5 separate regions of the Homo sapiens genome follow, and all the other regions are linked to region 1. Evidence: promoter capture Hi-C in 16 types of primary human blood cells and fetal thymus (Javierre and others, 2016). All regions are on one chromosome and are shown on one strand. The core of a region is centred on a gene start or on the middle of the fragment in contact, and the rest is flanking DNA. Distances in the headings are between cores, read along the strand shown.

Region 1 (4,899 bases), core at 948-3,447:
ATCTATCAGTTGGAACATCCCTCTACCCCCATAGTGCTCACTGAAATGCTCAGTGACCACCCGCCCAAGAGACACTGCATTACGCGACACTGTGTACCCAAAGTGCATTTTGTTTTTCAGGTTATTCCACCACCTCGCTGAGATAGTTTTTCTCCCTTCACAAGGCTGAGAGAATACAAAGGACAGGAATCATTTCCGTCTTTTCCCTTGTCGACCTAAAAAGTAGAGGCTGAAACACAAAATATGACCCAAAGTGTCTGAAAAAGGGGGACAGGATGTGGGCTGATACAAAGTTGTTTGTCAGGAATTCTCACTGATTTACAGAAGTAACATTGATAAGCGCGTGGCTATGCACTGTTAAGCTATAGGGTGTGGGTTCCAGGGTCCCGTGTTGCATTAGTAAGTTGATTATACCTACTTGTGGCAATAGCAGTTTCAAAAGATGAATTCATAGCTTCAGGGAGTTAGAAGGTGATTGCTGTATCACTTGAATGTCTCTATGTGCCCGTTCATTTAAAAGGACCCACATTTATCAGACGAAAATTATTTTTTTGAGGCCGGGTACAGTTACGCCTGTAATCCCAGCACTCTGGGAGGCCAAGGCAGGCGGATCGCGAGGTCAGGAGATCAAGACCATCCTGGCTAACAAGGTGAAACTCCGTCTCTACTAAAAACACAAAAAATTAGCCGGGCGTGGTGGCATGCGCCTGTAGTCCCAGGTACTGGGGAGGCTGAGGCAGGAGAATCGCTTGAATCCGGGAGGCAGAGGTTGCAGTGAGCCGACATCACGCCACTGCACTCCAGCTTGGGCGACAGAGAGACTCCGTCTCAAAAAAAAAAAAAAAAAAAAAAAGTTATCTGGGAGTGGTGGCGCAAAACTGTGGTCCCAACTACAGGGGAGGCTGAGGCAGGAGAATCGCTTGAACCCAGAAGATGGAGGTTGCAGTGAGCCGAGATCACGTCACTGCACTCCAGCCTAGGCGACAGAGCGAGACTCTTTCAAAACACACAAAAAATTTTCTTTTCTCAATCCTCAATACCAGCATCTGATTGGCTGACCACCAGTGTGTCTCCAAAGGATGGAAACTGGGGTTGGGGGAGGAAAAGCTGAGTGCCCCCAGAGGTTGGCTATTTAGAAGCAGGGTATGCTAGATTTATCCTAGTCCCAGGGCATTCTCCCAGCCTTCTATTTCAACTGTCCTCTAGGAAGACTCACCCAAGACCCAATATTCACTAGATCCTCCAAGAGACTTGGCAGCTGTGGGCAGCTTGAGTCAGCCCCAGACAGTTTTGAAACCCAGAACCAGGAAAAAATAAATAGGAGGGGGCGCTGAAGGCATATCACCCTGTAAAGATTCCAAAGGGGAACCTCAACTCAAAGACATTCTGATGAGGTATCTGTGCATAGAGGAGACAAAAGGACAAGCACAAAGGTTTCTTACAGCGGAGTGTCAAGGCTATGAACAGAAAACAAACCTTGATGAAAGAGTAATCCATTGCTTTGTTGAAAAATAAACAATGAAAGCACAATATCTGAAATGTAGAATATAGGAGAAACGGTTGCTAATGTCGTGAATGGAAGGGGAGAGGTTGGCGTTTGGAAAAGCGAAAAGAGAACAGGAAATTTGGGGATTTACTGCAAGCCCTGGAAACAGCAGGCTGGGGGACAGAGTGAGGATTTGGGACCCTGCATCCCATACACTTAGAAAACTCAGGGAAAAACGGGTGTCCTCTGTGGAGAGAAAAGGAACTGGGAACCTCATACACCACAGCTCCTTCCACGCACAAGTCAGGATTTCCCCCACCCCATGACCCTCGCGTGGGCCCCGCACAATCTGAAGAGACTTGGGTCTTCGGGGCCGGGGCCGCAATCGCGGCACAGGGCGGGACGAGGACGCCCGGGGTCCCGGCTGCCGGCCCAGCCCCACCCTGAGGCCGAGGGTACCAAGGGCTGAGCTGCGCCAGAGGGACTCGGTACGCAGACCCAGAGTCGCCCACGGGAAGGCCCGGGCCGCGCCACAGCCAGTTCCGGTCGTCCAACCAGCCCCTCCTCCCTGTCTCGGGACGCAGGGCCCGACACACTCACCATTTCCTGACTCCCGGGTGTCCCAGCTTCCTCCCTCCGGATCCCAAGGCAGGTACAGGAAACCGCGCCACAGAGACTCCAGGCGAGCCACTCTGGGCCTCTGGGACTAGCGAAGCGAAACCAAGTACGGCAGACGCGAGAAATGAAAATCCCGCGAGAAGGTTGAACGTCTGCAGCTGCGTCCCCGACGGCGCGCCTGATTGGACCGATCGCAGAGCTCCTCCCCGGTGCCCCTGATTGGGTACAGCTTCGGGCTCTGCCCCCTGCATCTTGACAGATGTGAATGACAGGAGATGTGAAGCATAGATGAGTGAAGCGGGAATGAGGGGTCTTGGCCCCAGCCCTCAAACGCAGGGTGGACTTCTTCCCCTCGTCCCCTTCACTGTACTTGGTCTGCGGGGGATGGGGAGATGGGAGATACTTGCATTTTAGCAGAACTTAATCCGGGTTTACCAAAGGAGATACTTCCTGTACTCAGTGGGTCATTTCTTCATCTACCTCTTGCATGAGGAGTCACAGGTGTGCGCAGGGAGTTCCAGGCAGGACTGGAACAGAAGAAAGGGCGTGATATTCCCAGGGATCGGAAATTTGGGATGAGGATATGGGAAGCGTGCCCAAGGCTTTCTCATACCATACCTCTTTATCTCTCTCTATTTTTTACTTTATTTACTTATTTATTACTTTATTTACTTATTTATTACTTTATTTATTTATTTGAGACAGGGTCTAGCTCTGCCACCCAGGTTAGAGTGCAATGGCATGATCATAGCTCACTGCAGCCTCCATCTCCTGGGTTCAAGCGAACCTTCCGCTTCAGTCCCCTGAGTAGTAGAGACTACAGGTACATGCCACCAAGCCCGGCAAATTCTTTAATTTTTTGTAGAGACGGGATTTCGTTTGTTGTCCAGGCTGGTCTTGAACTCCTAGCCTCAAGTGAACCTCCCACTTTCGCCTCCCAAATCAATCTACTCATTTTCACCCAAGAAAATAAAAAACTGCCAACAAGTGAATAAAATTATTAAATACATGGAAAAACAAGTTCTATTTCCGTAATCTGTAAAGAAATCAAAAGGGAAGTAAAGCGAAAATTTGAACTAGCTCAGATAAGCAGGGCACTTCAGAACATTTAAAAAGGAAAAGATGAATTCAGAAGGTAGAACATATTCCCAAGCTTAAGAGTCAGTGACTGCTGAAGTGGAGCCACAGAGTACATTAGACCCTGATGATGAGGCAGGAAACCTAAGGATTTAACTCTGGGAGCTCAACATGCCCTCCTGTCACAGCATCACAATGTGGGAACGCTCCCTCCTTCAATACCTTAATAATTTACACCAGCAGAAAACTCTCACCTGTGGTCAATTTAGGCCCCTTGAAATTCCAACCTCTCTAGCTCATAAACCATTTCTCTGGAACGCTACCTAAATGAGTCTCTAAATATGATCTTTACATATTTTCTTCATATATACAAATTACAGCCTGACTGCAGCAACTCTATACATAGAAAAATCAAGGCCGGGCACAGTGGTTCATGCCTGTAATCCCCAACACTTTGAGAGGCCGAGGCGGGCGGATCACTTGAGGTCAGGAGTTCAAAACCAGCCTGGCCAAGATGGCGAAACCCCGTCTCTACTAAAATTACAAAAATTAGCCGGGCGCCTATAATCCCAGCTTCTGGGGAGGCTGAGGCACAAGAATCGCTTGAACCCGGGAGGTAGAGGTTCCAGTGAGCCGAGATCGCGCCACTGCACTCCAGCCTGGGTGACAGAGCAAGACTCCGTCTCAAAAAACAAAAAGTTTTCCGGAAAACTACCTTGGGAAACTAGAGGTACAACCTCAGAAAGGAGAGAAACCCGCACGTGCATTTGCCTGTGAAGTTCCTGCTTTCCAGGGCTCTGCAGCTTCTCAGAATCCACACTCCTGGAGCTGGAGCTGGAGCTGTTCGGAGCAGCTGGAGACTACCTACAGGGGAAGGCAGGCTGCCCAGGAAGCAATCGGGGGAGCTCCCTTTCCCTCCCTTTGCAGGCTCCAGATTAGTCTCAGTGTGGATCACCGGCCTCAGGCTATGCTGCCCCCTGCAAGTTTTCCACCTGCTTTTCACCCACATTGTTCAGTTCCACGAGGCAAACACCCTCAATCCCAGTGTTCGAAAGAGAATCCAGCAGAGTCCCTGCTTTCCTCCTGTGTTTACCGTAAAGTAGAAGAGAAAAATTTCAAGACAGTTTTAAGTGGATTTTAAAACTGGCAAATAATTATTCCTTTGATAAAATGAAGAAGCCAGCAAACTATTATTTCGACATTAACAAACTGTTATATAAAACCACTAATGAAGGTCGGGCGCGGTGGCTCACGCCTGTAATCTCAGCACTTTGGGAGGGCGAGGCGGGCGGATCACCTAAGGTTAGGAGTTCGAGACCAGCCTGACCAACATGGAGAAACCTCGTCTCTAAAAGTACAAAATTAGCCAGGCGTGGTGGCGCGTGCCTGTAATCCCAGCTACTCAGGAGGCTGAGGCAGGAGAATCGCTTGAACCTGGGAGGCGGAAGTTGCCGTGAGCTGAGATCACACCATTGCACTCCAGCCTGGGCAACAAGAGCAACACGGTGAAACTCTGTCTCTACTAAAATACAAAAAATTAGCTGGGCGTGGCAGTGTGCGCCTGTAGTCCCAGCTACTCGGGAGGCTGAGACAGGAGAATTGCTTGAACCCCAGAGGCAGAGGTTGCAGTGAGTTGAGATCGCGCCACTGCACTCCAGCCTGGGCGACAGAGCGAGACTCCGTCTCCAAAAAAAAAAAAAAAAACTAATGAAATATGG
Region 2 (5,199 bases), core at 213-2,712, 500 kb before region 1:
GGGAACACCCTAGGCTTACCCCTCCTGCCTCCCTTCCCCTGCCTGCTGCTGGGGGAGATGCTGTCCATGTTTCTAGGGGTATTCATTTGCTTTCTCGTTGAAACCTGTTGTTAATAAAGTTTTTCACTCTGGCTGTCAGCCTCTTCTGTTCAGTGGGGTGTTCCTCCTACCTGGCGGGAAGGGCTCTAGCCCCATAGGCCTGGTGTGGGGCCCCAGTCTGGAGGCTTCTGGCTGTTCATTTGCTTACTTCATAAACCTTGTGTCTTAAGTCAGGTGCTAGGGACAAGACAGTGACTTCTGCCCTCTGGCAACTCACCAGATGGCCCTGCTGACCTAGATAATCTAGGCTTTGGTTTCCTTTTTTTTTTTTCCTTTTTAAGAAAGAAAATGGTCTTGATCTGTCATGCAGGCTGAGTGCAGTGGCACAATCTATGTTCACTGCAGCCTCAAACTCCTGGGCTCAAGCAATCCTCCCACCTCAGCCTGCCACGTAACTGGGACCACAAATGCGTGCTACCATGCCCAGTTAATTCTTGTTTTTTTTGAGACAGAGTTTTGCTCTTGTTGCCCAGGCTGGAGGGCAATGGCATGATCTTGATCTCGGCTCACTGCAACCTCCGCCTCCCAGGTTCAAGTGATTCTCCTGCCTCAGTCTCCCAAGTAGCTGGGATTACAGGCATGTGCCACCATGCCCAGCTAATTTTTGTATTTTTACATTTTGTGTAAAATTACAAATTTTGTGTTTTCAAACCCGTCTCTACAAAACAACCCATGTTGCCCAGGCTGGTCTCAAACTCCCAGGCCCAAGTGATTCACCAGCCTGGCCCTCCCAAAGTGCTGGGATTGCAGGCTTGAGCCACTGCGCCTGCCCTGGGCTTTGTTTTCTTATCAGAGAATGAACTGGTAGGAATTGGGAAAGGCATGAAAGACTCGGGGTCCTTCCCCACTTGTCAGACCCTCTTTTCTCTCCGGAACACCCAGGGATCCTTCTCAACCAGGCTGGATCCCATCCCTGGTACTCCAGGGGTATTTACCCAACGTCCCAATCCCCACAGTATAGGACTCTTCATCAGATCCTCCTCTTAGGCAAGCTAGGTCCTTCCAGGACCCTAGCGCTGAAGGTCCATGGGACGGACACCCTGGATTCCCATGGACACACTACACCGGCTAGGAAAACCCGGCCCCCTTAGGAAAAGCACTTCTGCTCCTACCGGCATTAAGAGGCATTCCGTCTTGGAATTCCGGCATTAAGAGGCATTCCGTCTTCATAGCCCGTGAGACGCCAGTGTCACCTTTAGCCCAACCAGTGCCCTGAGGGTGGCATTTTCCTACCTTCCTGTAACGACCCCCGGGATTGCCCAGGGCTACAGCCTCTCTCCCGTGAGCCTCCAGACCGCGCCCTGGCCCCGCCCCCCACCCCGATTGGCCCGGCCGGGTCTGGGGGCGGGGCGTTTGCCCGGCCTTTCCAGGGCCGGGGAACCCCAGGAGGAAGCTGCTGAGCCATGGGCGCCTACGCGCGGGCTTCGGGGGTCTGCGCTCGCGGCTGCCTGGACTCAGCAGGCCCCTGGACCATGTCCCGCGCCCTGCGGCCACCGCTCCCGCCTCTCTGCTTTTTCCTTTTGTTGCTGGCGGCTGCCGGTGCTCGGGCCGGGGGATACGAGGTGAGTGGGGCCTCCGAGCTGAAACGTACAGGAGGCAGAGTGAAACCCAGAATACAGTCTAGAGGTGTGGGTGGGTCTGTCCTGTGGGTGTCTAGTGAATGGCTGATGATATGACAGTGTGGTCTGAGTGCGTGCTTTGTGTCATTGCGAGGTCTGGCTGTGCGCATCTGAGTATAGGACTGTGTCTGATTGTACCTGCCTCCGTGTCTCCGGGATGCTTGCCTAGACTTTGTCTGCACTTAACTGTGGGATTGGAGGGGCAGGAGGTGGCAGGGGGTGAGCAGTGTATGTGTGGGGGGAGGTGCTGGCTGAGAGCTGGGACTCTGGAGTCTGCCTGAAATTCCAGCCTAGCTCTTACACTTCCTGAGTGTGTGACGTTGGGCAAGTCACCTATCCTCTCTAAGCCTCAGTGCCTTCATCTGGAAACTGGGGATAACATCACCCCACCTCCCACGGTGGCCGTCTGCTGTCGGCAAATGCTGAACAAACATCAGCTACTTCTATTATTATTTTCCCGGAGTGTGAATGAGAGCTGCCCTGTGGGGTTGTGCAAAGTGGAGTTGTATCTATGAGCACAACTATGTATGTGTGTGTCCTGCCTGGGAGGGCCTGGCCTCCTCTGCACATAGGCGAGATCAGGCCTCTCTGAGTCACTCACCTCTAGATCAAGACTTACTCTGCAGCCCCCGACCTCGGGGGTTATTGACAAGGTATGTGTGTTTGGGGTCCCTGTGCAGACATGCCCCACAGTGCAGCCGAACATGCTGAACGTGCACCTGCTGCCTCACACACATGATGACGTGGGCTGGCTCAAAACCGTGGACCAGTACTTTTATGGAAGTGAGTAGAGGATGGGGACTGGTCCCTGGGATCCCCATGGTCCCTGTAATCCCTCTGGGTCCTGGACATTAGGGTGGGGCCAGTGCTACCCTAATATCCAGGGTTTGGGCTCCTCTGTCTAGGAATAACCCCCTTGGCTCTGCTGTTCCCTGAGAGCCTTATCCCTGTTATCCACAGTCAAGAATGACATCCAGCACGCCGGTGTGCAGTACATCCTGGACTCGGTCATCTCTGCCTTGCTGGCAGATCCCACCCGTCGCTTCATTTACGTGGAGATTGCCTTCTTCTCCCGTTGGTGGCACCAGCAGACAAATGCCACACAGGAAGTCGTGCGAGACCTTGTGCGCCAGGGTGAGCCTACCCCAAGGAAGTGAAAAGAGGAAGCCCAGCCCAGCTTCTGCTTCTGCATCTCTGGTTTCTGAGATTTGTCATGCCACGTGCAAGCTGTATAACATGCGTGTCGCTCCGCCTGCCTGGACTCTCCATTTGGAGACCTCCTATACATCCCACAAAGCCCCACCTGCTGTGCATCCTCTGGGAAGCCTGCCATGCAGGGGGCCTCTTTCCCATATCTGGGAACTATGGCCTGGGAGCGACCCCTCTTGTCCTTCCGCCAGAAATGTGTACACAGGCAGGCTTTCACATTCCCAGTATCACCCACCCTACTCCCACTCCTGGCTCTGACCGCTGACCCTGACCTTGCCTGTCCTGGCACAGGGCGCCTGGAGTTCGCCAATGGTGGCTGGGTGATGAACGATGAGGCAGCCACCCACTACGGTGCCATCGTGGACCAGATGACACTTGGGCTGCGCTTTCTGGAGGACACATTTGGCAATGATGGGCGACCCCGTGTGGCCTGGCACATTGACCCCTTCGGCCACTCTCGGGAGCAGGCCTCGCTGTTTGCGCAGGTGCGACCCGGGACCTCTCTTGGGCCCACTTCTTCACTCACTCTGGCTCCTCCCTCGCCCAGTCAAACCCCGCCCTCTCCCTGCAATCTCACAAGGACCAGGCCCAGGCCTAGGCCTGTTGAAGCCCTGCCCCTTGAGTGAGCCGTAAAGCCAGTGGCTTTTGAGCTCTGGCCTCAGCCGGCTATGCCCAGCCCAGGCTGACCCAGCTCCGGCTGGCTCCGCCCTCTCCCCTAATAGGCCCCTCTTGGTGTTCTGGCCCCACCCACTAGCTCGGGTCCTGGCTCCTCCCTAAACCGGGTGGCAAGTGGATGCCTAGGCTGCCTTAAAAACAGGTTCATTACCTGTGCTCAGACCCCATCCATCCTCAGGCTGTGGAAGGGGGAACCTCATTCCTGGAGTCAGGCCTGCTCTGCGCTTTGACAGTGCTGGGGAGGTGAACCTGGGTTCTGATGTTGGACCCGCCCTCTCCCTGCTAGCCCAAGGTGGTGAGTTCTGAAACTTCCCCAAGCTTGGAAATAAGCTGGAGGCCTCTCTGTTTCAGCCCTACGTGTTTTTGTTTTTGTTTTTTGAGACAGGGTCTTGCTGTCATCCAGGCTGGAGTGCAGTGGTGCAATCCTAACTCACTATAGCCTCAATCTCCCGGATTCAAGCGATTCTCCTGTCTCAGCCCCCCTAGTAGATGAGACTACAAGAGCGCACCACTACGCCTGGCTAATTTTTAAATTTTTTGTAGACAGTCTGCCCGTGTTGTGCAGGCTGGTCTCAAAAACTCCTGGGTTTAAGTGATCCTCCTGTTTTGGCCTCCCAGAAGGCTGGGATCATAGGCAAGAGCCACCACATCGACCTAGCACTGCTTTTTAACCTGTGCTCTGACCTGCCCCTCCCAAGCAGAGGGGAGTTTGGTGGTGAGAGGGCTGGGCACTAATTCACACTGCCTTTTCCTCCCTCATCCCCAGATGGGCTTCGACGGCTTCTTCTTTGGGCGCCTTGATTATCAAGATAAGTGGGTACGGATGCAGAAGCTGGAGATGGAGCAGGTGTGGCGGGCCAGCACCAGCCTGAAGCCCCCGACCGCGGACCTCTTCACTGGTAGGGGGCTTGGTGAGGGCAGGGCCAGCCATGGTGCCACACACTCAGAAGGGCCCTGGGCTTGATATCTGCTCTGTTGTCACTGTCCTGGAATTCCTATAGTCTGGGAACAAAGGCCCTGCATTTCCTTTTGCATTGGGACACAAATTCTGAAGCCCATCCTGGGTGGGACATGGCCGGCTTTGAAACCAGGGAAGGTCTGGGTGATGGGCCACCCCTTGAACTTGGTGTGACCTGCAGGTGTGCTTCCCAATGGTTACAACCCGCCAAGGAATCTGTGCTGGGATGTGCTGTGTGTCGATCAGCCGCTGGTGGAGGACCCTCGCAGCCCCGAGTACAACGCCAAGGAGCTGGTCGATTACTTCCTAAATGTGGCCACTGCCCAGGTAACCCTGGTGTCCAGAACCTTCGAGTCCGGTATATACAATACAATGAGCTCTTTCCATGGTACAGGCATCCCCTAACACGTTCTCCTTATTTTTAATTTTTTTGAGACAGTCTTACTCTGTCACCCAGGCTGGAGTGCAGTGGTGCGATCTCGGCTCACTGCAACCTCTGCCTCCTGGGTTCAAACAAGCACATCCAGCTAATTTTTGTATTTTTGCACTGGGGTCTCATCATGTTGTCCAGGCTGGTCTCAAACTCCTGAGCTCAAGTGATCTGCTTGCCTCGGCCTCCCAAAGTGCCGGGATTACAGG
Region 3 (5,132 bases), core at 952-3,451, 280 kb after region 1:
ATTGGGGAGGTGCTTTTTTTAGTGAAATGAATGTATGGTTTTAAGGATATACAGCCACCTGCTGATGAGGTCTAGCCTTGACATTTGGTTGTCCATAGGACATCATTCTAGCTATGACAGACTTGTTTTCTTATATTTGTTAAGGAACAAGAGTCTTGGTAGGGGGGGCCTTTCACCTTAAAGGGGCAGAGATACTTTTCTGAGGCTGAGACTTGTCTTTGACTTTGGAGATCTTTACAGGGTATGACTAGACATAGCATTAAACGTGATAACTTGGGGTGAGTTTGATTGAGTTACATTAATGACAAGGTGGTCAGCATTGGAAGGGGAAAAGAAGAAAGAGTAATAGAATAGATGTAAGAGGTTAAATTTTTCTTAGCTTTAGTTTGAGGGGGTTTTCCCCTGGAATAATGGCCTACGACTTTGGGGGTGGCGGTGCTTTCTTGACTCGGGTGTGATGGGTCTATCCTTTCTCTGCTGTCCAGACTGCAGTTTCAATGGTGGGAAGTACTAGGCCAGCTCCTCAGGCCGGTGTTGACGCACTGGGAACTCCAGGAGCCGCACCTGTACTGGAAAATTGTGAGTTTTGAGGGAAGAGAAAGTGGAAGATAAACCAAGTATGTAGGAATGTTGGCAGTGGATTGCTTTGAGAGGTAGTTTGGATTAATAGGAAGACAGAAGACATTTGAGTTATGGCAACTAAGTTTCTAGACTTGTTTGGCTAAGGATGTACATTTTCATACACATATAAACTTTAACTGTGCTATACATAGCTTGAGGTCTTTAATGGGTCCTCTAATTTAGGTGGGATAGGACTTCTTTCATAAGAGGTTTAAATAACATTTGAATTCCCTTCAGTGCCTACAGGAGAAACGGCAGCTGGTTCGGATTATCTGATTTGCTAGGTTATTTTCTTAACTCTTGAAAGATAGGATTTTTGGTGCCTGGGGACGTGGAAAATAGCTTTTTTTTTTTTTCTGGTAACTGAAGGTTATTTAACACTTGGGTTATTAACTCTTCATGAACAAGGCTTTGACCTTTATTATTGTCTGAAATTTTCTAAATGTATGAGCCACGATAAAGGTGTATTTAGAATCAATATAGATTAGTATAGATGGTTCCTTTGCAGTTACTTTAAAGCTTGACTAAGTGCAAACAGCTTACAAATTTGGGTAAACTATTAAACAATTTTTAAATTTTATTTCTCTAGGAACTTCTCTATTTATTATTGAACATCTGTTGAATCCTTTTTCCTTTAATCATTTTTGAAGGGGGTTTCTCTTAAGTTTGGCCGGACATTTGTATGGTAATCAGTTAAATCTAAACATGTGTGCTTCCTTTTTAGATTTGGATCTTTCGTTAAGAAACTTGTTAGGTTAAGCAAATTACTAGTAACATTAAACTATCATTTTTAACAGAATAGCCTCATATTTATACACATGTAATTCTTTTTTGGTGGTACATTTTAACATAGGTGACTTTAAAGAATCAGAGTTCTTTTCTGGTGGATATTTTCACTTTTAACACTGGCCTGACTATAATAAATGCTAGTGGATATATCCGCTGAAAGATTATCTACTTCTTGCTCAGGAAACTTAGCTGCGGGGATGCCAGGCTGCTTGGAGCCATCGCTGAAGCCCCGTATTACTTAGCCTCAGCAAAGTAAGGCAGATATCCTATAATGTAGTTTGCATGGGGCATAGGCTGGGGCCTGGCTCGCATGTCATGCAGAGCTGCCGTCAATACAGTGCCAGGACCTTGGACCAGCCAGTGGGCAGGAGCATGGGCTTTGCCGCTGCAGGGGTGCACTATGGGCCAGACAACGCTGACAACATGTTGCGGCAGATCCTTCATGTTGCTAGCCTGGCAAAAGCCATCTGGTGAATTAGGAGCTTGGAGTTCTTTAGGGGAGAGGGACTTAGGCTGGGGAAGAACAGACTTACTGGGCGATGCCTGAGGGGAAGGGTTGGGTATTAGGTGGGGAATGGTCTAGGGGATCTTGCGAGTTGTTCTTTTTGCTAGGATCCCCCAAGCCCCTTCCTTCACTGTCTTTTTCATTAAAGATGGTTCTATCTTAATAGGGCACATGTACAACTCATTTTCCTCCAAATATTAGTTTTTGACTTGCTCCTTTCAATCCTTGGAGGAGGGGAAAGGACAACTCCTTGCAACTAACATAGGGCATAATTTGTTTCTTCTCAGGAGGCAGGTCTTCTACTAGCAACATTTTCTATTAGAAGTTCACAAATCCATCCCTCATTCGACTTAAATTCTGGCCAGAAAACTAAGGGTTCAAGGATTCGTTCTTGAGTCTAAATGGAACAGCAATATTTTATCACTAATTGCTTTTTCTTATGTTTAGTCTTTTCATTATCTTTCTAATGTTTTAACATGAGACCTAGGGGACTATTAGGGGGGATATCTTTGTTGCTAACTTTGTCTTTTTTGCTTGTAATATTTCCTATACTGGGTCCTGGCTAGGCTCAATCCCTCGTGATAGGAATCTCTTGCCTAGGGGGGCTTGCTGTGGCTCAACCCCTCATATTAAGGATCTCTTGCCTATTTTGGGGGTTCCTTGTGGCTCAGCCTCTCAAATTAAGGATCTCTTGCCTATTTGGGGGGTTCCTTGTGGCTCAACCCCTCATATTAGGAGGTCTTTTGCCTATCCCTCACTGGAAGTGTGGCTAAGGCTCAATTCCACTATCCTTTAGCTCCACCTGCTGGAGGTTCCTTGCACCCTTCTTTCGCTTCATCCACTCTGGCCGCTTCCCTCGCAGGTTTGTTTCAGGTTCCTCTTAGCATTGATGGCAGGTCCGTATAAACCTGTGACAGGACCCCCGCAGGGCTGCCCTAAGCCGTGTGAGGTGACCACAGAACCGCAGATTGGACTCACTCGCTCCGCACAGCAGTAGTGCTTGTTACCATTCATGCACTTTCAACCCCCAGAATGCCCTGACACACCCCTCCGACTACCAAAGAATTACTTTGTTGCCCCTGCAACGTTTCCCACCTTGGTCTGTGCACAGAGTTTACCTGGTCGCTGCGGTATTGCAAGCCTCTCTTCCCCGCGTTGCTGAGAGTCCGGGTTTATTCGTCAAAATGGGTGGGTCTCGATCTCCTGTCCCTGAGGCCACCGCAATGGGGCAGTGGGACGCGTCTCCCCAGGGTAGGGTGACTGAAGAACTCTTCCAAAAGGAGCATGGGGATCTCGGACGATCCCCTAGAATTGTTGGATATAAAATGCTCCCGGAATAAAAGCTTGGTGCCGTGAAGTAAAACCAGCACTCAGGCAAAATTTTAATTCTCTCAGCAAGGCAATTTACTACTGCAGAAGGGTGCCACTCACGTCAATCAAGATCACAAGAGCACAGAGAACAAAGGAGACCAGGAGGTTTTTATCCTTAATGCGGTCCCTATCTCTGTGTTACTCCCCCATGGGCTGGGGTCGGACCGCACAGTCTGAGCTGACCCGATTGGCTGCTTGTACATATTTTTCTAAATATAGAAGGGGAGGGGGATGTGAGGTACAGAGGTGGAGCATGTGAGATGTGCAGTTTTGGGGGAACAATGGGTACAGGTAACCAAGGGAACAGATGTGAGTTATTGATTAGAGCTGATGGGAACGGGGTAGGCTGTTTTAAAGTAACTAGGGGCAAGGAGGAACAGGAAAGTTGAGTTTGAGAACAAAAGACGAGGAAGTTAGCAGGCTAAATCTTTAAAGAAAAACTTAAAGAAATTCACTGTATCTTACAAATCTGACCCCAGTGGCCCCATGCATGTCAAACCCCAAACCCTGCCCAGAAGACAGCCCCAGGCTCCAGAGGTACAACACCAGAAAGGACAGAACCCCCACACATACGTGTGCATGTGGGTCTTCTGCTTTCCAGGGCTCTTCAGCTTCTCGGAATCCGCACTCCTTCTGGAGCTGCTCTGAGCAATTGGAGGCCACCTGTAGGGGAGGGCGGGCTGCCCGGAAGCCCCCAGGAAAGGCTCCTTTCCCTTCCTTTGCAGGCTCCACACTGGCCTCAGCGTTGAGTCACCGGCCTCGGGCTCTGCTGCCCCCTGCAGGTTATTCAGCTACTTCTCACCCCATTGATCAGTTCCATGACACAAACACCCTCAATCCCATTGTGTGAATAAGACACCAGCAGAGTCCCTGCTCTCCTCCTATGTTTATGTATAAAGTGGGGAAGGAAAATTCTAAGATAACTTAAGTGCATTTAAAAGATTTCCAGATCGTGGTGGAGGTGGCAGCTGAGGGACGCACGTTCAGTGACACTGCAGTACCTCCGGGCCTGGCTGGTTGGAGAGAGGGTGGAGAGCTGGAGATGAATGTGGATATATGGAGGGAGCAGCCCTGGGAACCGGGCTCTGCAGCAGCGCGGCTCTAGGGCCTGGAGCCCGGGGGAGCAGAGATGATGGGGGCTCCTGGGACAGGACGCTTGGGGAGAAGAGAGTCAGGCGGTTTCCATGGGACAGGGGTGCTGTGGCAGCTGGTGTGGGCCTGTGGCTATCATAACTAAGCCCGATTGGGACGTGAAAACTTGGATTCCGTGGGAATTTATGAAGAGGAAGGCTCTGATGACAAAGAAGTCATCGATGAGGAGAGGGATTAGGGTCACTGGCAAGCTCGCCCCCTTATGGAAAGAAAAGTGAACGTTCAGCTACTGCGGCAAAATGGGGTCAAAGGATGAGACTCTCACTGTCAGGGAATAAATTGCTGCAGAACTCTTAGAGATTGCAAAGACCTTCAAACAACAGCCTGGGAGGCCGGGTGCCATGGCTCACGCCTGTAATCCCAACATTTTGGGAGGCCAAAGTGGGAGGATCGCTTGAAGCCCGAGATTGGAGACCACCCTGAGCCGTGAAGTGAGACCCTCCCATCTCCATAAAAAATTTTTAATTACCAAGGAGAAGTGTGTGTACCTACAGTCTCAGCTACTCAGGAGGCTGAGACAGGAGAGTCACTTGAACCCCAAAGTTTGAGGCTGCTGTGAGCTATAATTGGGTACTGCGCTTCAGCAAGACACTGTCTCAAAACAAACAAACAAAAAATTAAAATCCCACCAAACTCCCTGGGGAAACCCTGTACCCCTTTGATGGTCAAAGTGTAAAATACAGCAGGTGGTGAC
Region 4 (5,189 bases), core at 1,988-4,487, 420 kb after region 1:
GAGTATGCCTCAATTGTTTCATGTGGAGAAATTATGGCAAAACCAGTTACTATGTTTTCCCTACAATTGTGTTAAGAGAGGCCTTCTCAAAATGATAGTAAGTCTAGGTCATCCAAGGAGGTGTCTAGGAGATCTTCCTGTGGCTTTAGGACCGTTTCTATCTGTGCATGACAGTCATGTGTCATGCTTGACTGTCAGGAATGGGGTGGGGCTCTCCATCATCAGGTAGGTAGTATAGTAGCCAGACTTACTGGGAAGATGTCAGAAATAATATGACAGAATTGAGAGTCCGGAAATAACCCCCTTTGCTATCATTTGAATGTTTGTGTCCCCTCAAAATTCATAGGTGAGAACTCAATCCCCAGCACCACAATTTTGGGAGTTGGGGACTTTTAGTCTTTTGGCAGAGCCCTCATGAATAGACTAATGCCACTATAAAGGGTTTGATGGATGGGGCTCGCCCTCTCTTGCCCTTCTGTCTTCTGCCCTGTGAGGATGCAGTGTTCCTTCCCTCCAGAAGATGCAGTAAGAAGGCCCTCCCTAGGTGCTGGCACCTTTATCTTGGAATTCCCAGCATCCAGAACTACGAGAAAACTAATTAATATTCTTTATAAATTGCCCACTTGGCAGTAGTTCATTATAGCAGCACAAATGGACTAAGACACTCTTCATGGATAGTTAATTAATCTTCAACAAATAGGCCAAGATAAATTAAAGGGGAAAGTCTTTTCAACAAGCTACTAAGGAAGTTGAATATTGACCTTCAGAAACACGAACTGAGCTCCTTACTGCATGCATTAAAGTTAACTCACACTGAAATGGTACATTTAGCAGCAGATATTAGAGGATATCTTCGTGACAGAGGGTTGGGGAAGGAGTTGTGTTTCCTTTTCTTTTAAAAAACTCAGAAATAGCCGGGTGCAGTGGCTCACAACTGTCATCCCAGCACTTTGGGTGGCCGAGGCAGGCAGATCACCTGAGGTCAGGAGTTTGAGACCAGCCTGACCAATATGGAGAAACCCTGTCTCTACTAAAAATATAAAATTAGCCAGATGTGGTGGCGCATGCCTGCAATCCCAGCTACTCAGGAGGCTGAGGTGGGAGAATTGCTTGAACCCGGAGGCAGAGGTTGCGGTGAGCCGAGATTGCACCATTGCACTTCAGTCTGGGCAACAGGAGCAAAACTCCATCTCAGAAAAAAAAAAAAGACAAACTCAGAAATAAACATCCTAACTCAGAAAAGCATGGTGTTGCCATAGAACTGACTGTGAGGAAACTAACAGCAATACTTTCTATATTGTGTTTAAACTTGCACATACAAATTTTGGGCTTTCTAGCTTCTCTTAGGATTTCTTTTATACTTTCTCTGGGGGAGGGGGTGTGGGTCTCACCATTGTTGATTTTTCCTTCATCATGGTAATGCGAACAGCTATTTTTGTCTGGAAGCTTTTATATGTATTTAAATCATTGCAGAAATCAACTACTTACTTGTTGCCATTTGTAAAAATATACAGAATCTGTATATAAACCCCTGACAATCAGTTAGTTTGATACATTGTGCCCTCTTTTAATATGTGTGGAAACAAATAAATAGAACATTGTTCCAGGAGCAGTTAATGTGAGGAGTGAGGGGTGGAGCATTTCATAAAATAGTAGTTTATCCTTCAGAGAGCAGTTTCTAGCATAATAGACTGTGGGAGTGTGTGTGTGTGTGTCTGTGTGTGTGCTTATTATTTTTTTTTAAGGAAACAGTATCATTTATGCATTAGGTTATACTCAGACGTCATTTTTTTCATTCATTTTCTAAACGTGCCCATTTGTCCTGGCAGAAAATGCTATAGTTTCTAGAAGTTGATTGAAGATTTCATTTCATCTATTGACATCTCATGTTCAGCTCCTTTCTATTTAGCCATGGCTACCAGCTTCTAGTTCATAACGCTTTTTTTTTTTTTTTTTTGAGATGGAGTTTTTTTTTTTCCTCGCTCTGTTGCCCAGGCTGGAGTGCAGTGGTGTGATGTCGGCTCACTGCAACCTCTGCCTGCCGGGTTCAAGCGATACTCCTGCCTCAGCTTCCTGAGGAGCCGGGATTACAGGAGCGTGCCACCACACCCGGCTAATTTTGCGTTTTTAGTAGAAACGGGGTTTCATCATGTTTGTCAGGCTGGTCTCAAACTCCCGACCTCAGGTGATCCACCCGCCTCAGCCTCCCAAAGTGCTGGGATTACAGGCGTGAGCCACCGCGCCCGGCCATAACGCTTTTAAGTCTAGTATTTTTACTTCATAAACATATGGAGAAAGGCTAATGTTTTCAAATTCAAAGTGTGATGTCTTGGCTTTTGATTGGAGCGTTTAATTCATTAACATTTAATGGCATAAGGAGGGAGCATTTCCACGCTGTGCAGAGGGGACAGGTATTTTGAGACCTCAGAGTAAAATTCTTAATTGTCCCTCCCTTATCACCAGCTTCTGATCCACCCCGGAGCTCCATTTTAGGAATCATTGCCTGGCTTCCCAGCTTGGGGATATGTTTGACCTCCTGAAAGGGGGTCTGCTTGTGAACTGTGAGTGCAGTAGGCTGCTTCTCTGAGCTTGTTCAAGTTTTTGCTTTTCTTCTCTTTTGATTCTTTATGAAATATTGCTGCCATATAATTCCAGTTTTTCCACATACTCAACTATTTTATTTTGTTGTCCTGTTTTTATCTTCTGGGCTGAAAATGAGTAGATTGAGAGATAAGGTGAGGGAAAGGCTTGGCAACGTCGCCAACAGCCTCATCCCAAATTCCTGATCCCTGGAGGACATCAGGCCCTCCCTCCTGCTGCAGGGTGGCCTGTGTGCCCCGGGCTCCCCTCCTGCTCCGAGGTCCGGGAATGGCTCCACTGGACAGGGAGCCTGGAATTCCCTGCACACACTTGTGAGTCCCTGTCCAGGAGGAAAAAGCAGGAAGAACCCACTGAATACAATCAGGAAATTCTAAAATGCAAACGTCACTTCGGGAGGGGTCAGGTCACTCCGTTGGGAGGAAGCCCGCCTTGCCAAGGGTCGTGCCTGGAACCTGTTCATCCGGCTCCACTCAGCACTGTGAGATCGCTTCTTCTGTCAATCAGCCACCAAGGGGCGGGACCTGGAGCACTATCCAATCAGGGATGAGGGGGCGGGGATTGTGAGAACTGTCAATCAGGCACGCTGCAGGGAGGAGGGTGCGACGTTCAAAGAGCCCGCGGAGTCTTCTCCACGCCCCTGCGCTCTGAGTCCTGGCTCTGGCGCTGAGAGAGAGACGCCCTGGAAGGTCTGTATCAGCGTCTGTCGCGCTGGGACCCACACTGGCTTTTAAGGAGGACACCCGGACACCTGGAAGCTGGGAAATGGTGAGTGTGCGGGGCCCGGCGTCCCGAGGCAAAGAAGGGGCAGGTTGGAACCGGCCGGAACCGACCGTGAGGGGACCCGGGCCTCGCCCTGGGCGACTCCGGGGTCTGCAAATCCCAGTGCCCCTGGCGCAGCTCTGCCCTTGGTCCCCTGGGCCGCAAGATGGGGCTGGGGCGGCAGCCGGGACCCCGGGCGTCCTGTCCCGTCCCTGCTCGGCCGCTGCGGCCCCGGCCCCGGCGCCCTCTCTGGGCAGCTCCGCGCCCGCAGCTCCGCGTCTCCCCAGATTGTGCAGTTGTAACCGGCACAGGTTCACGGCCCGAGTCACTGCACCGAGACGCCGAAGGCTGCAGCAGAAACAGTTTAATGGGGGAGAGGGGAGGACACCCCAGATCCGCCTCCCTGAGAGGTTTGGGGATGGGGTGTTTAGAGGTGTGGACAGGGACGGCTGGAGTGTGGGGTCGCTGGTTGGTGGAGAAGTGAGAGGTGACTCCTGGGACTGGAGGTGAAGAAACCGCATTCTGCTGAGTGGGTTCCCTTGTGGGGTCTTCAGCCTGGTTGGCGCCAGCCTTTCCGCTGCAATTCAGGATCCGAGAAAGAACTGAGGCGACCCGTGAGCAACTCTCAAGAGATCTTATCCCCGGGCACGATGAGGAAGCCGGCGGTCAGCGTCTGCTGTGACCTGACTCTCAGGGAGGCGGCCCCGTGAGGCAGCGGGGCTGAGGGCACCTGGTTAATATCTAACTGCAATCTCGCCTCCAGCCTGGCTCGCAGTTCCTGTGAACCCGGTGAGGACGCTGCACGGTGACAACGGAGGGTCACCAGGCAGAATCCAGACTCGTGTGTGTGGGCTTTGTGCTTTGGAAGAGAAGCTGTGATCTGTGGGTTCCCCAGTCCCTTCTTTCTTCCCAAAGGTGACCGGTTTCCCTCCGAGTCTTCCAAAGATGTGGGCAGCAGGGTCTCAAATCCACCACCCTATCCCCTCATCCTAACTCCTCCTAGGGCTGGCAGCAAATCTCTTGGTTTTCAGAGCCTTCCCCAGGCTAACTGTCTCTCATCAATTCCCAGCAACTTTATGAACTCTTTGTCCCTCAGGCAATATTTCAAACAGAGGCATTATTTTAATTGTCACTTTCTTTTCACATAGCAATGTATGGCTCTTTTTAAAAGATGTGTTTTTGTGTTTGTGAACATTTCACATGTGAGGAAGCAAAGAATAACCACTTGACTCCAGTGTGAAAAAAAAAAAAAAAAAAAAAAAGCCGGGCGCGGTGGCTCACGCCTGTAATCCCAGCACTTTGGGAGGCTAAGGCTGGCGGATCACCTGAGGTCGGGAGTTCGAGACCAGCCTGACCAACATGGAGGAACTCCGTCTCTACTAAAAATACAAAATTAGCCGGGGTGGTGGCTCATGCCTGTAATCCCAGCTACTTGGGAGGCTGAGGGAGGAGAATTGCTTGAACCCGGTAGGCGGAGGTTGCGGTGAGCCAAGATCACGCCATTGCACTCCAGCCTGGGCAACAAGAGTGAAACTCCGTCTCAGAAAAAAGAAAAAGAAAAAAAAAATAGTGCATGTGTGGCTGTCCTTTATCTTGTCTACACAGAGATACCCGAATATTTTCAGTCGAGGTTCCTCTTTGCAAATGGCACAGGGTGATCTGTCAGCCCACCCTCTATGGTGTCCTGGTCCTGGGTTACAGAACTGTTTGGGGCTGCTCCAAGATGCTCATAGCTGCTAAGTCTTTTGTAGTGTCTAGTGAATATCAGCTTTGAGTCACTCCTCCCAGAGGACAGCCAGAGGTGGGGGGTGGGACCTTATAGGGGAGCA
Region 5 (4,746 bases), core at 986-3,485, 350 kb after region 1:
ATACAAAAATTAGCCAGGAATGGTGGCGCATGCCTGTAATCCCAGCTACTTGAAAGGCTGAGGCAGGAGAATTGCTTGAACCGGGAGGCAGAGTTTGCAGTGAGCCAAGATCGTGCCACTGCATTCCAGCCTGAGACACAGTGAGACTCCATCTCAAAAAAAAAAAAATTATGTTTTAGCCATCTTTTTTTGAGACGGGGTCTCACTCTGTCGCCCAAGCTGGAGTGCAGTGGTGCGATGGCTACTCAATGCAGCCTCAACCTCCCAGACTCAAGCAATCCTCCCACCTCAGCCTCCTAAGTAGGTGGGACTACAAGTGCCTGCCACCATGCCTGGCTAGTTTTTTATTTTTGGTAGAGATGAGGTCTCATTCGGTTGTTCAGGTTGATCTCAAACTCCTGAGCTTAAGTGATCCTCCAGCCTCAGCCTCCCAAAGTGTTGGGATTACAGGTGTGCGCCTGGCCTCTTGGGCATCTTCATTGCTCCACACCTTACAATGATAAATTCAATATTCTGTGAATATTTCCTGGAGAAATTAGCACAGCCATAACTTGTGATAAGGTAAATCAGGTGTTGAAATTTGAACATTCCTGGAAACTTCATTTAATAAACCTAATTTTGCTTATGTGTGAAAGTATTCATACATATTCATTGTTCAGACACAGATAACCATGGCAAGATGAGGTGCTATGAAAAACTATGTTGGGACAACAGGTACTATCAAGGATTATCACTGGCAAACCGGGACACATGGTCAGATGATTTCTGAGGCAGTTTTGTACCTTATGTAAAGGTAGAAAGTGTTGGAACTAGAAGACATCGAGCTGGAGTCAGTTGCAGAATTGATGCTTTGCTTGGCATGTGGGGGACACTTCTCAAATATTTGCATTTGGTCACAGAAGTATTCCGTGTTGTGTGAGAGCAGAGGAAAAAGAGTAGACTTTTTTTCCACTCTTAAGTCTCAGCACAACTCAGAAATCCAGTCCCCCAGACAGGATGTGTGGATGTTAAAGTCGCCCTCACCACAAGAGGGAGCTTCATTGACTTCCCCTATCTGGAAAATGGCTCAAAGGTGTTTTCTAAAAGACTTTTTAATGTAAGGCATATCAGTTATTAGAAATAAAGGTAGGACAGGTGTGGTGGCTCACACCAGTAATACCAGCATTTTGGAAGGCCAAGGTAGGAGGATCGCTTGAGGCCAGGAGTTTGAGACCAGCCTGGGCAACATAGTGGGACCCTGTCTCTACCCGAAAAAAGAAAAAAAGTTAAGGTAACATCACTGAATTTGGTTTCATTTACATGATTTTTCTTTTCTTTTCTTCTTTCTTTCTTTCTTTCTTTCTTTCTTTCTTTCTTTCTTTCTTTCTTTCTTTCTTTCTTTCTTTCTTTCTCTCTCTCCCTCTCTCTCTCTCTCTTTCTTTCTTTCTTTCTTTCTTTCTTTCTTTTTTTTTTTTTACAAGGTCTCCCTCTGTCACCCAGGCTGGAGTACAGTGGTGCAAACAGAGCTCACTGCAGCCTTGATCTTCCGGACTCAAGCAATTCTCCCACCTCAGCCTCCCAAGTAGAGCCTGGGACCACAGGTGTGCGCCACCAAGCCCAGCGAATTTTTGTATTTTTTGTACAGATGGGGTTTCACTGTGTTGCCCAGACTGCTCTCCAACTCCTGGCCTCAAGTGACCCTCCCACTTTAGCTTCCTAAAGTGCTGGGATTACAGGTTCTGAGGCACCATGCCTGGCCAATTTAATTTTTCATAGATTGATTTTTAAAAAGTAATGAACCTGGCTGGGCATAGTGGTCATGCCTGTAATCCCAGCACTTTGGGAGGCTGAGGTGAGTGGATCACCTGAGGTTGGGAGTTCGAGACCAGCCTAGCCAACATGGTGAAACCCCATCTCTACTAAAAATACAAAAATTAGCTGAGTGTGGTGGTGCATGCCTGTAATCCCAGCTACTAAGGAGGCTGAAGCAGGAGAATCGCTTGAACCTGGAAGGTGGAGGTTGCAATGAGCCGAGATCACACCATTGCACTCCAGCCTGGGCAGCGACAAAGAGAGACTCTGTCTCAAAAAAAGAAAAAGAAAAAGAAAAAGAATAAGCAATAAACCCTGTGAACTTTGATTAGATTTCCCAGATCCTAAAAAGTGCAGTGTAACAAAAAACTGAATGGAAAGAAGTAGGACTAACTGAGGTGAGAGGAAGAACCCTCTGTGGAGGTGACATTTGAGGTGACCTGATATAATGTATTAGTATAAAGAAAATGTTAAAATGAACATTATGGGAGGCCATTGTTTTGGACTGAGCTTCTGCACTAGGCACTTAGAAACCAGATCAGACCAAAATGGAGTCACTCATGCTAAATGCCACATAACGAAACTGAAACTTAAAGGAAGCGAATAGATCCCTATACAGATGAATTTTTCCATCGAAAACCAGTTCAGTATCCTGTTGGCCAGACTGGTCTCAATTTGAGAAACATCAAGACACCTCCATAGTCAAGGCTAATAATGTCCAGGCTGTGTCCTGTTCATCACCTAAACCTGCACCTCTAGTGTTCCTTACCTTCACTGGCCATCCCAACACAGTGCCCGCCTCCTGTAGAAAATCACATCTGGAGTGAAGTTGGTGGCGTTGTTTGTACTCTAACCAAACTCTCAGAGTGCATTTGGCCTTCAAGGGAGAAGGATGAGGTCGTGTTTGGTTTCAGACACACCTAACTCTGTATTACCATCTCTTTCTTGATCTAAGCGACACTCTATAAAAACTGATAGGCAATGGGCTGGGTGCAGTAGCTCACGCCTGTAATCCCAGCACTTTGGGAGGCCGAGGCAGGTGGATCACAAGGTCAGGAGTTCAAGACTAGCCTGGCCAACATGGTGAAACGCCGTCTCTACTAAAAATACAAAAATTAGCCGGGTGTGGTGGCGGGCACCTGTAATCCCAGCTACTTGGGAGGCTGAGGCAGGACAATAGCTTGAACCCAGGAGGCAGAGGTTGCAGTGAGCCAAGATCGTGCCACTGCACTCCAGCCTGGGTGACAAAGTGAGACTCCATCTCAAAAAAAAAAAAAATGACAGGCAATGACAGTACCTTTCACTTATGTTGATACCTAATCTGGGGATGGATGTGTCATCTGCACATAGAGTCAGGGGTTGGTCACTCATTGCTGCTCTGTCCTGTGGTACCAGGTTTTGACTCTAGGGGGTTTCAAACAGGCTTCTCTGAAGAAGAGTTTGGCTGGCACTTCAAAAAAGTGATTGGATTGGTCCATGCCACTGCATAATATATAAAACTAACTTTTCCATGTTGCCTATTACTCTACAGTGTGGCATAAAAGGGTTGCTGAACTCCTGTTCGAGATCAGCCTGGGCAACATGGTGAAACCTTGTCTCTAAAAAAAAAAATACAAAAATTAGCTGGGCATGGTCCCAGCTACTTGGGAGGCTAAGGTGGGAGGATCGCTTGAGCCCAGGAGGTGGAGATTGCAGTGAGCCGAGATCACGCCACTGCACTCCACATAGCCTGGGTGATAGAATGAGACCCTGTGTCAAAAAGAAAAAAGAGGGGTGCATCAAGAGCATATTATCTGAGCAAGAAAGGCTTGGTTGGAATAGTGATACTGACTTTCATCCTTCCTAGGCGTGCATTCAGACAGTTACATAAATATATTGACCACACTTGACTCAGTAAGGAATTTCTTTAAAAGTATTATACAGCTTCCTAAGGAGTAAGTGATTTTATATATTTTTAACTGGAGCATTTTGTGGAACAGTGTTCATACACTCTAAGAAATATCTTAGGTTTTGGAGAATAAGTAAAGCAAAAACAGGTCCACAAGTCTGGGAGCTGCCTCCCCTCACCACAAGGCCAAATCTTAAGCCATGTCAGACACCTGCAGTGTGAAGCAGTGCTCCTCAGTGACCATGATGGAGCAGGACAAAAACGAGGGCATTCTGTAACCACGTCCCTAGATGGGATAGAAGAAAACATATTTCAAATCATAAAAATAACCAAAAATTCCAGTTCCCCTCTTCTCATAATGGACTGACCAGCAATTGTCTTCAATTAGGTTTACCTCCAATCCATTCTTTCTCCTTCTAGGTGAGAACTACTATGATTAGCAGTGGTACAATTAAGTTCACATCCTGACAGCATCCAATATACAAAAATGACTCACCTCCTTGAATAGAGAACAATGCACCTAAAACAGAAATCCTGTAAGAAATTCTACAGAGAACCCTCTTATTGGTATGTCCTGCAGTCATTTATGGCTTGTGGTCATATTTATTACTACAATTTATTACATCCTCTTTGACAACAGTTTTTTTAGTACTGGTGGTTTTGGGCAACACAGCACCATAACAGCAAGATTTAACTTCGGGGATTATAAAAGAATGACAAATTATGGTCAAGATAAAAATTGTGGCTGGGAACAGTGGCTCACGCCTATAATCTCAGCACTTTGGAAGACTGAGACAGGAGGATTGCTTTGGCCCAGGAGTTGGAGACTAGCCTGGGGAGCATAACAAGACCTCCTCAGTACTAAAAATTAAAAAAAAATTAGCCAGGCATGATGGTGCACACCTGTAGTCCCAGCGACTCAGGAGGCTGAGGCAGGAGGATTACTTAAGCCCAGGAGCTCAGAGCTGCAATGAGCTATGATTGCACCACTGCACTCCAGCCTGGGTTAAAAGGCAAGACCCTGTCTCAAAAAAAAAAAGGTAAAAATTATAAGTAGATATGCATGA

Evidence for each region. Contacts are between HindIII fragments. The CHiCAGO score rates a contact against its expected background, and 5 or more counts as called.
Region 2: the fragment with the promoter of MAN2B1 here is called in contact with the fragment with the promoter of ZNF136 in region 1 in 1 of 17 cell types (fetal thymus); the score reaches 5.7 in fetal thymus.
Region 3: a fragment that was not itself captured here is called in contact with the fragment with the promoter of ZNF136 in region 1 in 6 of 17 cell types (naive CD8 T cells, total CD8 T cells, total CD4 T cells and 3 more); the score reaches 9.2 in naive CD8 T cells.
Region 4: a contact is called between the fragment with the promoter of ZNF823 here and the fragment with the promoter of ZNF136 in region 1, in 3 of 17 cell types (M1 macrophages, erythroblasts and non-activated CD4 T cells). The highest score is 6.6, in M1 macrophages.
Region 5: a fragment that was not itself captured here is called in contact with the fragment with the promoter of ZNF136 in region 1 in 1 of 17 cell types (neutrophils); the score reaches 7.4 in neutrophils.

The regions. Positions count from the first base shown.
Region 1 is chr19:12,160,394-12,165,292 of GRCh38, reverse strand. It overlaps ZNF136 (zinc finger protein 136), which reads right to left and starts at 2,197. Exons shown (of 4, transcript NM_003437.5): 1 at 2,087-2,197. The coding sequence starts at 2,089. RefSeq lists enhancers at 2,097-2,256, 2,267-2,356. The HindIII fragment of the contact is 16,254 bases long and covers 1-3,259 here.
Region 2 is chr19:12,663,005-12,668,203 of GRCh38, reverse strand. MAN2B1 (mannosidase alpha class 2B member 1) reads left to right here and starts at 1,462. Exons shown (of 24, transcript NM_000528.4): 1 at 1,462-1,661; 2 at 2,399-2,501; 3 at 2,679-2,852; 4 at 3,219-3,412; 5 at 4,369-4,501; 6 at 4,742-4,887. The coding sequence starts at 1,503. It overlaps WDR83 (WD repeat domain 83), which reads right to left and starts at 1,397. Exons shown (of 11, transcript NM_001099737.3): 1 at 1,212-1,397. It overlaps WDR83OS (WD repeat domain 83 opposite strand), which reads left to right. Exons shown (of 4, transcript NM_016145.4): 4 at 1-131. RefSeq lists a silencer at 1,320-1,599 and enhancers at 1,850-1,979, 2,000-2,129, 2,190-2,239, 2,780-2,829, 1,896-2,843 and 2 more. The HindIII fragment of the contact is 17,009 bases long and covers 1-3,922 here.
Region 3 is chr19:11,878,983-11,884,114 of GRCh38, reverse strand. No RefSeq gene overlaps it. Among named protein-coding and RNA genes, the nearest start is that of ZNF69, 6.2 kb to the left of the region's middle. RefSeq lists an enhancer at 2,615-2,794. The HindIII fragment of the contact is 2,118 bases long and covers 1,143-3,260 here.
Region 4 is chr19:11,736,994-11,742,182 of GRCh38, reverse strand. It overlaps ZNF823 (zinc finger protein 823), which reads left to right and starts at 3,237. Exons shown (of 4, transcript NM_001080493.4): 1 at 3,237-3,366. The coding sequence starts at 3,364. RefSeq lists silencers at 3,059-3,253, 3,514-3,663 and enhancers at 3,264-3,343, 3,734-3,863. The HindIII fragment of the contact is 8,001 bases long and covers 1,449-5,189 here.
Region 5 is chr19:11,808,596-11,813,341 of GRCh38, reverse strand. No RefSeq gene overlaps it. Among named protein-coding and RNA genes, the nearest start is that of ZNF440, 3.3 kb to the left of the region's middle. RefSeq lists a silencer at 969-1,078. The HindIII fragment of the contact is 8,771 bases long and covers 1-4,746 here.